Regions from separate parts of the Homo sapiens genome. Here all the other regions are linked to region 2. Evidence: promoter capture Hi-C in human tissues and cell types (Jung and others, 2019). All regions are on one chromosome and are shown on one strand. The core of a region is centred on a gene start or on the middle of the fragment in contact, and the rest is flanking DNA. Distances in the headings are between cores, read along the strand shown. Region 1 holds the start of LOC124900830 (a long non-coding RNA gene). Region 2 holds the start of SLC25A4 (solute carrier family 25 member 4). Region 3 overlaps LOC105377582 (a long non-coding RNA gene).

The links. The method cuts DNA at HindIII sites, captures the fragments that hold promoters and counts their contacts. A contact is called where the count stands out against the background at its distance.
Region 1: a contact is called between a fragment that was not itself captured here and the fragment with the promoter of SLC25A4 in region 2, in 1 of the 25 tissues and cell types used here (dorsolateral prefrontal cortex).
Region 3: a contact is called between a fragment that was not itself captured here and the fragment with the promoter of SLC25A4 in region 2, in 2 of the 25 tissues and cell types used here (IMR-90 fibroblasts and lymphoblastoid cells).

What each region holds. Positions count from the first base shown.
Region 1 is chr4:186,022,944-186,027,703 of GRCh38, forward strand. It overlaps LOC124900830 (a long non-coding RNA gene), which reads right to left and starts at 22. Exons shown (of 3, transcript XR_007058420.1): 1 at 1-22. It also overlaps the pseudogene RNU4-64P. RefSeq lists an enhancer at 4,167-4,760. The HindIII fragment of the contact is 3,937 bases long and covers 323-4,259 here.
Region 2 is chr4:185,139,791-185,144,704 of GRCh38, forward strand. It overlaps SLC25A4 (solute carrier family 25 member 4), which reads left to right and starts at 3,476. Exons shown (of 4, transcript NM_001151.4): 1 at 3,476-3,693. The coding sequence starts at 3,583. RefSeq lists a silencer at 3,248-3,547. The HindIII fragment of the contact is 7,904 bases long and covers 1-4,914 here.
Region 3 is chr4:184,278,590-184,282,916 of GRCh38, forward strand. LOC105377582 (a long non-coding RNA gene) reads right to left here. Exons shown (of 6, transcript XR_939552.3): 2 at 1-45. It also overlaps the pseudogene RN7SL28P. Among named protein-coding and RNA genes, the nearest start is that of MYL12BP2, 34 kb to the right of the region's middle. RefSeq lists enhancers at 2,877-3,006, 3,047-3,116, 3,137-3,286, 4,237-4,286. The HindIII fragment of the contact is 5,968 bases long and covers 1-4,327 here.

The DNA.
Region 1 (4,760 bases), core at 1,041-3,540, 880 kb after region 2:
ATGGCTCATGTCTGTAATCCCAGCACTTTGGGAGGCCGAGGCACCAGATCAGTTGAGGTCAAGAGTTTGAGACCAACCTGGCTAACATGATGAAACCCCGTCTCTACTAAAAATACAGCAAAAAAAAAAGTTAGTGGAGCATGATGGTGGGAGCCTGTAATCCCAGCTACTCAGGAGGCTGAGGCATGAGAATCACTTGAACCCACAAGGCGGAGGGAGCAGTGAGCCAAGATCAGGCCACTGCACTCCAGCCTGGGCAACAGAGCGAGACTCAGTCTCAAAACAAATAAAATAAATAAAATAATATAAACAGATCATATCCGGCAAATGTTGACAACTATTTTACCTTCATACTTATTCAAAATTTCAAAATATTAACAGCAAAAGACTTAAGTAGGAGTGCCAAGGCAACCACAAACGGGCCAGCAGTTTAGTTTGCAAACAGAATTGAATTGTACAGGGCAGGGCTCACACACTGACCCCGGCCCAGGGGGACCCTTAAATATCAAGGCAGGAGAACATTGGTGTGTCAGCCTACGTGGGACCAAACTGCAGAATTTCCTACAAGATCCGTCTTTCCTCCTTTTTTATAGTCCGATACTCTCTTTGTCAACCTGTTTCATTAGTTAGTAGGTCACAAAAAGGGAAACTTCTCAATTGCTGAAAAATCTTTCTCTAGTTCTTAAAATCACAAGGTTTGTGCCTGTAACATACATGTTTTATATCTATTCCGACAGTTGCCATCCAGTGTGTATTGTTACCACGTTTAATACATTAAAGTAAATCCCACTGCACCATGCGTGTGGACTGCCGTGCACACTGACTGTGCTCTTTTTGTTCAGTATGGCTCCGCTTTTAAAGCTGTGGTCTGTGTGTGTTTGTGTGGATGACGTGCACGGCTTTCTGAAACGATGCTCCAGTGGTGGTGAAGGGGACAGCGGGGCTGGACTCTGCCCACCCTGGCCCAGCTGGGCACCCAGCTCCCGTCCTGGCTCCTGCTCCTGTTCTGCCCCTCTCACCAGATTCTGAGCCTGGGTTTGTTCACAGACTGATCCCCAGACTCCAACGCCTGGGACTTGACACCTTCTGCTAAAACTCTTCTCTACATTCAACGTGCCGCAGGCTCACCTTTCACAAAACGACTAGATTTTGGCTGATGAGCCCTGTTCCCGTGGGCGTCTGACTGTAGTGAGTCCTTGTTTGGGCTGCACCGTTCCTGTCTCGGCACCGATGTAGTCGACCGTCCAGGTGAGGCCGAACCAGGAGAGCTTTGGCAGCGGTGAAGCCTCTCCATTCTTTCCAGACCAGTGCTGAAATACACCCCAGTGGTTCCAACAAATAAACTAATATCCAGACATCCACCCCTCCAGGGACAACAAATATAGAGGTTAATACAAATATTGAGAGGACAGGTGGGGCGTGGTGGCTCATGCCTGTAATCCCAGCACTTTGGGAGGCCGACGCAGGTAGATCACTTGAGGTCAGGAGTTTGAGAGCAGCCTGGCCAACATGGTGAAACCCTATCTCTAGTAAAAATACAAAAATTAATCATGGTGGCAGGCACCTGTAATCTCAGCGACTCGGGAGGCTGAGGCAGGAGAATTGCTTGAACCCAGGAGGCAGAGGTCGCAGTGAGCCGAGATCACGCCACTGCACTCCAGCTGCAGCCTAGGGCCGAGTGAGACCCTGTCTCCAAAAAACAAAACAAACAAAAAATAAAAAAAAAAAATAAAATAAAAATAAATATTGAGAGGACAAATATGAAAGAAAGCAGATTAGATATTGGCATCAAGCTTTTTAAAGAAAAAAATACTGATTTTATTCAAATGCAGCGAAGTTTCTATTATTAATACTGCCACCGCAGAACCCGCTGACCTTGCGAAATGCTGGGTTCACCTGCAGGACGCAGACACAGAGTTCACTGTGGCTAAGACCAGGTCAGCCTATGGGATCTAGAGAGTTCTGATCCAGGCAAACTCTTCCAGGAAATGGAACTGTGTATCAGAGAATGAGAAATAGAAGGAACACTTTTCTGTGAATGCCTCTTTACTGTCTCAGTATAGAAAACTTACACAAAATTCAAGAAGCAACTCAAATAACTCTGCCTCCTCATGCCCCTGCCTGCTACTTATTCAGATGCACGTTCCCACCGTGTTTCTCCCACTCTCGGGGCGGCACTCATGACTCTATGACGCTCGTTTCTGTGCCTTGCCTCCCCCAGGATTGTGAGCGAGGGTAAGACAAGGATTGTGCCTCATTCATCTCAGTATCTCAGCTCTTCGTAGAGTGATGTGCAAATAGTAGGCCCTTCAAAGATGCGCGGAGTTAACACAGAGTTCATTTCTGAAGCTTTTGGCAGCATGGATGCTGTTGATCCCTTGCTGGGAGGGAACTAAACTTCAGACCACCCATGTGGGATCTTGAAACAGAAACAGGGAATCCTGTTTTCACTTCATATGTAGATGGCTTTACAAAGATGTCACTCCCACCTTAGCAAGGAGGAAAAGCCATGTGATCTTCACAGTGCCAACTTTTCTTGAGCACTTCAGAAAGCTGAGGTTGCAAGGCAAGCAAGTGAAGTCAGTTCTGAGGAGTGACAGGTCCCTCGGGGAGAATCGGGCCGCACAGATGGTTTCACCCTTGGCAGAGTGTGAGAGGAGGGTGGATGGAGCAGCCGTAAAAGCAGGTTGGAAGAAAACAGCCAGGATGGGCCGGGTGCGGTGGCTAACGCCTGTAATCCCAGCACTTTGGGAGGCCGAGGCAGGCGAATCACAAGGTCAGGAGTTCGAGACCAGCCTGGCCAACATGGTGAAACCCCATCTCTACTAAAAATACAAAAATTAGCTAGGCATAGTGACAGGCGCCTGTAATCCCAGCTACTCGGGAGGCTGAGGCAGGAGAATCGCTTGAACCCGGGAGGCGGAGGTTGCATGAGCCGAGATCACGCCGCTGCACTTCAGTCCGGGGGGCGACAGAGTGAGAGTCCGTCTCAAAAACAAAAAAAGCAAAACGAAACAAAACAAACAAAAACAAAACAAAAAACCCAGCCAGAATGTAGCAAATTCTTAAAGTCTGAGTGTGAGCTTGTGTGCTAGATGGTTGAGAAAGCCCCGGTGGGCCTGAGACACAAGGAGAACCTGCATTCACCTAGTGTTAGCTCTTTCCACCATCTCCACTGTGTGCTCCTGAGGAAGATCTGGACAGGGAAGGACAATCCAGCTACTGTCCCTGACACAGATACTGCTTCAGGGGAGGGGAAGAAGCAAAAGCGCTGTTTGTCCTTGGGGGAAGACCTGGAAAATACTCAGGTGCAAGATCCTGTGATGGATGCAAAGCGAAGGCGGTTACCATGGGGAAGGGAGCTGGGAAGCTTTGCAAGCAGGAGGAATAGCTGCTGGGCAAAGTGACACCACTTTGTGGAAAGCTCACTATCACCACCTTCCTCTCAGCCCCTACAAGCCCAGAGAACAGGCAAAGTGCTTTGGCGGAGGTGTCTAGAAGAATCTAGTGCTTCTGTCACCAGGTGTGTGAAAATATCTCAACTCCTCACAAGGTCCACTGCCTTGCGCTGCTCATTTTCAATTAGCAATAATCATGCCTTGGATAAACCTCATTGGCTATGATACAGCCACTGCAGAGAGCTATGCTGTTCATTTTCTTCACCTAAGACTCACAAAGCAGGGGATGGGGGGCAGTCAGACCTTAGCTACAAGAGGCTGGGAAGTGTAATTTTCATCCATCTTTCTTTCCTTCCCTCCCTCCCTCCCTTCCTTCCTTCCCTTTCATCTCTCTTGTCCTTTCTTTCTTCTCTTTCTTCTCTGCCTCTGCAGTTCAAACAGGCATTCTAGCTGTAGTTCAGAAAGTGATTCCATAAATGGGTTGGAACAGGAGCTGAAAAGCCAGTCCATAATTTCTACTGCACCTCTCATCCCACTAAATACCATTACGTCAGAGGCCCTGTTCATTTCCTTTACAGTGCCACAGCAGTTACAACAAAACAAAATACACATAATGGTGGTTTATTTTTACTTATTTAATGTCCTCCTCTGCCCCATTCATTTATAAGTTCCGCTCATGCCTCGTGTAAACAAAAACTAAAACTCTAAGCCCTCAACCGACTGAATGGATCCCTTCTGAGCCAAGGAGACCTCAAATGATATGGTTTGGATGTGTGTCCCCTCCAAATCTCATGCTGATGTAATCCCCAATGTTGCAGGTGGGGCCTGGTGAGAGGTGTTTGGGTCATGGGATGTATCCCTCATGAATGGCTTGGTGCCATCCTCATGGTAATGAGTGAGTTCTTGCTGTATCAGTTCATGGGAGAGCTGGTTGTCTAAAATAACCCGGCACCTCTGTGATTGCCAGACAGTTTCTTCTTGCTGGCTGCACAGACAAAATCAATCCACTGAGACCACAGCATTGCAGTACAGAAAGAGTTTAACTGACACGAAGCCGGACCACATGGGAGAACTGGAGCTATCATTCAAATTGGTCTCTCTGAAGGCTCAGAGGTTAGAGTCTTTATGACAATTTGGTGGGCGGGGAGTTAGGGAATGGGCGCTGCCGATTGGTTGGGGATGAAATCACAGGGTGCAGAAACAATCCCCGTGCTCTGAGTCAGCTGCTGGGTGGAGCCACAGGATCAGGTGAGTCAGGAGTCAGGAGTCCAGGTGGGGTGTGTCTGAAACACATCTCAGAAAACCCATCTTAGGTTCTACAGTAGTGATGTCATCCATAGGAGCAATTGAGAAGGTCTCAAA
Region 2 (4,914 bases), core at 2,226-4,725:
ATCCCATCCACGATTGAAAGTAGAGTTTCTTCTCATCTCCTAGATGCCTTGTCCATTCTCCTGCTGGAAGAAAGCCACTAAGTACTGGGTTGGGCGGGTGGACACATGTTCTGCCGAGCGCCATTCTCTCCCCTGCCTGTGTAAGTGATACCAGGATCTTGTGACCACAGGCAGCTCATGCTCCCGAGGGCATGTAAGGCCTCTCTTTTCTGAGAAAGTCCGTGGAAGCAGAGGACAGTGTATGAGTTTCCATGGAAAACCTCTTGTCAAGGATTCCAGCTATGACTCCTTCTATAGAACAGGATAACTGGAGAGTAGCCAAGGAGAAATATATCTCCCATTTAGAAAATATCCAAAACTCTGATTGGTAAAATTAAGTGTAACAAAGATGATACTACTTCCTGAATTCATATATTAATTAATATTTAATTTAGTTTAAATGTCTATTTAAAATCTTCTGGTGATGTTTAAACAATTGAACAACTTGATAGTAAAAATAAATCCAGACACATAAGCAGATAAAACTTTATTTTTTAAGTGATTGTAGAATCATATATCAGCCTATTTTTAAAAAATGAAGATCAAATAAATATGTCATAGTGTGGATATTTCATAAATTAAAGCTATTATGAGAACTTAATATATGACAAACTAGACTTAGTAATATAAGACAAATAATGGAGAGAAGAAAATATCTACTTAAGAATTAGTATTGGGATACCCAAGCATGATATGGAGAAAAGTGAAATTAGACCCATACCTCCATACAATATAAAACGTAGTGTTAGACATTTTAAAAATAGCTACTCAAAGTAGAAGAAAAAAACTGATATATGTACTAGAGTAAATAGACTGCTATATCTATAAAAGAGATACATTTACATCAGAACATGAAATAGATCATCATCATACCATAGATCTGTTCATAACACTAATAGAATGATATAATAAATATCAAAAGGAAAACAACAAAATGAAAAACATTCAACACATATTTATTGTCCCAAATATATAAAGAATTGTTGTTAATATAAATACTCTGCTTTCACTCCAGCAGTAGTCAAGGAAGATTAAAAGTTTATACAAAAGGGAAACCTTGTCAAACTGTCAAATTAAATTGAATCATATGGAATATATACAGCTTCATAGTAATTAAGTAAATACAAACTAAAACTCATAAATAACTCACAAATAACCAACTCTCTATTTTTTTAAAGCCAGTGTTGGAGAAGAGTGTGAGAGAAAGCCCATCTATATAACTGGTGGGTTGGTATTTCTGAAGAGCAATTTGTCAATATGTAGCAAAAGCTACAAAACTTTAAAAATCTTAAATCTATCCATTCCATTTGGGAAATATATGAGAAGAAAAAACTTAGAGGAGAAAATGAAGTTTGTGTAAGTTTCAATGTAGCAGTATTAGTTTTCCTTCCTTCCTTCCTTCCTTCCTTCCTTCCTTCCTTTCTTTCTTTCTTTCTTTCTTTTTTTTTTTTTGAGTCAGAGTCTTTCTCTGTTGCCCAGGCTGAAGTGCAGTGGAGTGATCTCAGATCACCATGACCTCTGCCTCTCGGGGGTCTCGTGCCTGAGCCTCCTGAGCTGCTGGGATTCCAGGCATGAGCCATCACGCCAGGCTAATTTTTGTATTTTTAGTAGAGATGGGGTTTTGCCATGTTGGCCAGGCTGGTCTCGAACTCCTGACCTAGGTAATCTGCCAGCCTCAGCCTCCCAAAGGTATGAGCCACCACACCCGGCCTATTTTTCATCATAAAAATAAGACACAATTCTAATGCACAATTAAAAGGAAAATGGAGGTATAAAAGCAAGTGCTCTATATTACAGGATGGGATACAGTACACTATTATAATTAAAAAGGTTTACTGTGTGGATTATGCTGATCCATGGAAATCAGTAAGTGAAGTTTTGATAAAGTGGAGCAAGTGACGAATACACTGAACTGTAAGGTCTTTGGAGATGGGCCACGTCTACTTATATTCAATCCACAGGGCTACACCTAGTTCTTGGTACACAGTACATGCTCAGCAAGAGTCTGTTGAATGAACACATACATGGTTTATCTGTTTGTCTCTTCCGAGTTCTTGACTTCTGTCTGCTCTGACCTCTGGCAGCTTTCCACTAGTTTCTAGCTTTCATTCTGCTTACCTGGATTTCGGAACTCTAGCCTGCCCCACTCTTAGATAAACGCATGCCCTCTGTGGCCCTGGAACCTTAGTGACTTCTGCTATACCAAAGTCTCCACGCCCAGGGTGACACGCAGCTGCAGCTCCGTAAACCTCTAACATGATGTCAGCAAATATTAAAAAAAAAAAGTTTATAAAACAATGAATAAACTTTGTTAAAGGTACAAATGAAAATTAGCAAACATGGGAAGATAATTGAGTGAAGAGTTTAAAGTTAAAAACGAATTGCAGTCATTCTAGGGGAAGGAACAGTTGTATTTGAAAACCTGTATGGTTACATGAACTGCCTAAAAAACAAGCTAAGGAAAATTAAAGCTCAGATTTATATATTTTAAGAAATTAATTGCAATTAATTTCCTGGGATTAAATAGCATTTCCTCAACCCCAGCTGTCATTAAAAAGAGGCAAATACAGCCAAGGACTGGATCTCCGGAAGGCTGACAGCACTGACCCTCAAGAAGGCACCGGCTGACAGACAGAACATTCTGCCCTAATATGTGCTGAAATTCCGCTGAGAGCAGAGTGGTACATTGAACCCTTTAGGGGCTTACAAAAGAAGTGTCCTGTGTTTTAGAGTCACAGAGTTTTGCAGAAACAAGTATGAATTCACCTAGTGGCCCCCTGCACCAGGTCTTTCCTGTGGGCACTGAGTGCCAGACACATCAATATGTAATAGCAGAATGAATGACTGAACGAACGATTGAATGAAAAGAAATGAGAGGCAGCAGGTTGTCAGATTCTATGAGGCAATCACAGCATCAGGTGACCTTAGTATCTATTTGAGAGGACTGCCATTTATTCTCGGGAGCGCACGGCTCTAAAGAGGCCCATATCCAGGCAGTGAGCTCTGGTGGGGGGCGCCTTTAGATGCAAGAAGGAGGAAACAGCTCGAAATCCCTGGGCCTGAGCGCGGCCCGTGCAGGCCGGAGGGTCAAGAACTCTCCACCGGCGGCAGCGGCCCGGTGTCTGCCCCGGCTTCGCCCCGGCCTAAGGCTGCCTGTGCTATAAATACGCGGCCCACATGCCGCGGTGACACGGTGTTCCCTGGGCTCGGCGGGACAGATAACATGAATGTGCCCTTTAAACGTCCCAAGTTGCAGGGACAGCCCCCGGCCCAGCCTCGCTCCCGGAAGCGCCTTCGCCCCCGATGCCCTCTGCAGCTGGGAGGAGGGGGCGCCCCGCACCTGCCCAGCCAATGCGCGGCGCGAGCGCCGGCCGCGACCCGCCTCCTCTCGCGAGAGCCCGGCGGGGATATAAGGGGGAGCTGCGGGCCAGGCGGCGGCCCCCTAGCGTCGCGCAGGGTCGGGGACTGCGCGGCGGTGCCAGGCCGGGCGTGGGCGAGAGCACGAACGGGCTGCCTGCGGGCTGAGAGCGTCGAGCTGTCACCATGGGTGATCACGCTTGGAGCTTCCTAAAGGACTTCCTGGCCGGGGGCGTCGCCGCTGCCGTCTCCAAGACCGCGGTCGCCCCCATCGAGAGGGTCAAACTGCTGCTGCAGGTGAGGACCGCGCGGTGCAAGAGGCGGGCGCGGGCGCGGCGGGCCGGGCGGGGCGCGCGATGCGGCGCGAGCTGCAGGGCGCGGGGCGCCGCGGAAAATCTGCGCCAGGCCACAGGCCCGGGCGCCCGCCCGCCCGCCCGCCCGCCCGCGGGGGAAGAAGGTGCCCTCTGCGTAGAGACAGGTCCAGCGTCAGTCGCAGATTCCTGGTGTCGGGTGGCGCCCGGCGTTCGGGTGTCTATATATGGAAACCCACCCGGAGCCGGTTTACGTGTGCCAGATCCTGCGCCCGTGACAGCACGGGCGTGCACTCAGGCCCGGAGGCACCTAGTGATTGCCAGTATTTTTGGCACCGTCTTATGCGCACGCACCTTTACAATAAAAACATCAAAATAATCATCACCCAAGAATTCCCTTATCGTATCTCATGCACAATGCTGTATGTAGGCTGACGCCTTCATCTTTATGTAACCTCTGTGAGAGAGTTATTCTTCTCCATTTTACAGATGAAGCTGAGGTTTTGAAATATTAAGAAACAATTTTCGGAATAAACTCAGATCATCCTGTCTCCAAATCTTTTCCTCCCCTACCTGGTCGCTGAATGGTTTATCATCCTCTCGTGTTTTCCTCCACCTGCCCAAAAGGTCAGGGCCCCTCAATGAGGAAGAGCCCAATTTGGGAGTCAGAATTACTAACAACAAAACCCCCACAAATTGCTCACAACGGCAGCAAACCCTTAATAATTGATTACTTGGATTATCTGCTTGAAAACTTTGGAGGCCTAATGTTTAGTGGATTTATTCTCCTTCCTCTATTAGAGCATCTAGTAGAGATCCTCATCTCCAGGGTGATCAGAGTGACACTGAGAAATTGTCATTTTTTGGCCATCATGTCTATTAAATCCAAAGCCCTTTGAAGCAGGGAGTGTTACTCATTTCTGTCCCCCAGTAAGCCCCTCATACAGTTCTCAAACCTAGGGAAAGTGAAATAAATAAATGGCTATAGCTTTATATAATTCAATCACCTTTTCAGTTTATTTGGGGCAATACCTTTTCCCTCAAATACCCTAATAATTGAAGCAACATTGGATTATTTTGGCTTGTTATCCAGTAACTAACATGGATAACAGTATCCATTTACACGTCCTCAGTATCCATTTGATTTCCTCATCCTTTTTTTCTTCAAAAAAAAAATCTAGGAAGTGCAAACCTTTTTTTTTCTCCT
Region 3 (4,327 bases), core at 637-3,136, 860 kb before region 2:
CACTTTTTCTCCCACTTTATGACACACTTCCATGTGCCATTATATCTAAAAAAAATAAAATAAAATCAACTCCAAAAGCAGAGAGCAAAGTCATAACCCATCTCAGCAAAGGTTTATTAAATTTCATTCATCCCAGAAGCTGCTCTGCCAACATTTTTCATCTTTTTCCTTTCTTCCTTTCCAATTTTATGATTTTTTTCTTTTCCACCTAAGGAAACCTTCTAGCGTCTCTTTGCCTACACTAAGCTTTTTTATATCTACAGCTCTTCCCATTACCATTAAAAGGCAAGAGGAAGAGAAGAGGATCTTTGTATACTTGTCTCTATCGTACAGTATATGAATGTATGCCAGGTGTGGTGGCACATGCCTGTATTCCCAACTACTCAGGAGGCTAAGGGAGGAAGGTTGGCTTGAGCCCAAGAGTTCTGGGCTGTAGTGTGCTATGTCCACTGGGTGTCTGCACTAAGTTCAGCATCAATATGGTGACCTTCTGGGAGTGGGGAACCACCAGGTAGCCTAAGGAGGGTTGAACCTGCCCAGGTTAAAATAGAACAGATAAGAATTCTGTGCTGATAAGTAGTGAGATCCAACCTGTAAATAGCCACCACACTCCAGCCTGGGCAACATAGTGAGACCTTGTCTCTAGAAAAATAAAATAAAATAAACCTTTTTAAAAAATGAATCTAAATTCACATGTAACGATACCTTTCTTGGAGATTGTTTTACTTGAGAGCTGGCAACATAAGTTCTTGACTTTTCAACACAGAGTTCCTCTAGTTTCTTTTACAGTATTTTAGATCACTGCTTTTCAAATGTTAATGTACACTGGAATCTCCTACAGATTCTGATAAAATGCAGATTTTGATTCAGTAATTCTGGAGTAGGCCTAAGATTCTGTGTTCCTCAAAGACTCTCGGATGATGGCCAATGCCACGGGTTCTTAGACCTCACTTTGAATGGCAAGATTTATATTATTCATTTTTTTCTAACTGCCCGCAAAACACTTCAGTGCAGTTGTTAAAATTATTTTTGTTGTTGCAACTCTCATGTTACATACAGGAAGCTTCAGGAACCCTGCTTGGCTGATGATCTCAGCTCCTCTTAGCTTTGGAGATGGGGTTGGAGTTATCCAGCCAGTGCATGCTCTGTTGGAGACAGTGCCACATGAGGCCCTTTCTAAGACAGACAGGGGCACGGTGACAGGGAGACACTAGTGGGAACATTTCTATATGGGTCTTTAATGAATCAAGAATCTGGTTACTGTTTAAAAGAGTGTCTTGAATGGATTTGTCAGAAGAGCCAAGGAGCCTCTGTTTGGAACCGTTCTCAAATGGCATGATTGTAGTATAAGGCAGGGAGCGTATGAATGGCTTCTTTTCAGGAGAAGAAAAAGAGCAAGGGGATTGAAGTAATGGGGAGCCTCTGGGCTCATCTTTCAGCTGAGTCTGCCCAGCTCTCATTAGCGTACCCTCCTTATAGGTATGAACTGAAAAGGGAAGTTGGAGGGTTGTGTCTATGGAAGGGACTAGGGGACCTGGGGAACTGAGGACCAGGAATTACAGTCTCATATTCAGTAAAGGACTCAAAAGTCAGTGATCCAAGTAATGACCAGAGAATATTAGAAAAGGAAAAACAGCCAGCTGCATTCTTAGATGTTATTAGAAATCAAGGCATGTATAGCTGAGGGGTGCTCAGAGACTCTCTGGTTCTGACCCTGTGTTTGCAGATAAAGAAACTAACATTCAGGAAGTTGGATGACTTGCTCAAGGTCATAAGATTGGGTAGGGCTTTTAGCTGGCTTTTGAACTCGTGGTTCCGAGCTCTTTGCAGTTGAACATATTTGTTGTTTCTCGCATCAATTAACTCTAACACATTTAATTAGATATAAAAACTGTTCCCATGGATTAAATTCTGTTTTTGAAATTGTGCGGGCAGTGCCCTGGAAAAAAAAAATCAGCAATAAAGGCCATAGCTATGTCCCCAGAGCTCAGCTGTGGCACTTGTGGGCAGCTACATAGTTTGAAGTTTGAACAAAAGTTTTCTGAAAAGGAATTTGGAGGAAAGACACTTTCTTACAGTGAACAGTTTGCAAACTGGGGAGACACTGTCTTCCTGTATAAGGAAGGTGTGCATTTCAGAGAACAAAGAGAGGGTTTGGCTTTTGTAGGTTCTAAATCAGGTCTGTTTATGCAAATAAATGATTCAAACTTGCTTAGTTCTGATTGATCAATGCAGCTGAGTTTTGATTGGTTGACACAGCTAGGCCCTGATTGGCCAAGGTGGGGGAGCTCTGATTGGTTGGTTCAGGCAAGCTCTGAAAGTCCACAGTTAAACATAGGTGTAGGTTTCCCCAGAACTCAGAGTACATCTGTGACCTCTAGCCAGCAAAGGGCCGCTTGGCTCTGTTATAAACGTAGGCCCAGTTAGCAGCTCAGGATCTATCTTGAAGGATTGGCTCTTTCAGGTGCACATTTGTTCACAAAAGCATGGTTGGCTTCTTCACACAAGGACAGGTTTCTTCACAGAGAATCAGTTACACACTCCTGAGCATATTTAACTCCCACAGCCCATTAAGTAGATGATAATATTCTTATTTTACAAATAAGGAAACTGAGACTCGGAATAAATAAATTGTTGCAGTTCACGCATTTGCACCGAGATTCAGCCCCAGGCCTGCCTTCTCCCACTCCTGTGCCCCTTCCACCCACTGCCTGGCCCCCACCCTGCTGTTTCCTGCTGGGTGTGCCGGGAGCACTGACCTGGGGCTCTGGGGACAGGACTCGGTTTTATAAAGTGCTGGGAGAAGTAGGAGAATTCAGAGGGAAATGGGATCTGATGCTTGGATTATGGGAGAAGCAAGATAAAAGGATGCTAAAGGCAGGAGAAGCAATGGGAGAATGTCTGCCTGGTGTCCCGTGGTCCCTGTGCAGCTGCTCCTCTCTATTGTTTCTGTGAAGGGATCATGCAAGGTACTTTCCAGCCACTGTTTTAGACTTTTGTTTTTGATGAGCTGGAACAGCAGCAGGTAGGTAGGTGGTGGGGGCCCTCTTTTTCACTTTTCTTTCTCTCTTTCCTTGTCGTGAGCTCAGGGGCCATAAGCCACCCGTTCAACAGCCAAAGGATGAAGCAGATCTTGGCAATGTTACCATTTCTGTAACTACTGGAGGCTTGCTGCCCTTTGACAGACTGGAGTGGAGCGCTTCAGGGGAAAAGCAGTACCCACCAACACCGTGGCATCTCTGCTCAACGCTGACCATCACGTTGAATTTCTGTTTATGTCTGTAGTAAGATAATCAGCTGGAAAGCAGATTGCTATTGAGAGGGTTTTCTGGTTTTCTTAGTAGGTCAAAAACCAAATTAGATGACCCACATCATAGGCCCGGATCAGTTTAGAAAAATCCCTCCAGTCCTTCAGTGGCATCCTTAGCAGGAGGTTCTGACTTGGAGGAAATGGACAGCCTGCATTTTCTGGAACTGAGAGGTTGCAGGAGGAAGGGAAAGAGAGGGAGATCAAGGATGACAAAATCTGGGATTTCAGTTTATCCCTTCTCTGAGGACAGAAACAGCTCTCAAGCAGGAAGAGAGAGGCTTTAGAAATACCCAGATCAGTGAGCCTGGGAACCTTGATTGTCCACTTTTCTGGGCAGAGGAAGGGGAAGTTTCTGGTCCCAGAGAATTCCAGCTCAGCACCACACCCAAAACAGTGCAAGTGGATGACAGTTAAACCCAAGGCGGGGCTGTAGGGTGCAGGGGCCTGCATGTCGCACCCTGGAGTCCTGACAGTTTCCCCGAGCCACATGAAGGGCACACAGCCATACTGAGATGCCTTGGCACACAGAGATCTCAGACGGCTTCAAACAAGCCTTAGTGTGAATCAGTCATCAAAACCAGAAAACACTTTCCGGGTCCTCAGACTCCACCGTGGTCTGCAGTGCATCACCCCAAAAGGCCAGAGGAGGCCAGTCACACCTCAGAGGGCAACAGTGCAGGAAGCGGCCCAACCCAGCCGCTTTGTTGCACAGACTGGCATGTCAATACAGGATACAAACTGGGCCTCACTGTCTGCTCTGCCATGAGTTTTCCTAAGCCACACCTCTCCTCTCTAACTAGGGTGAACAAACATCACCTGCTCTACTGGCATAATTATTAATAGTGCCCTCTTTCTCTCTCAAACACATCTCGGATTGATCTGACCTGAGTGGTTAAAAAATAAATATTATAGAATAAGATGCATGCTGTAATTCCAAGTAATAATGAGAAAAAGCTCACCTATGTGTGCAAGGTTCCTCTATGCAGGGAGCATATTTGGAAGGACACTGCTAACCAC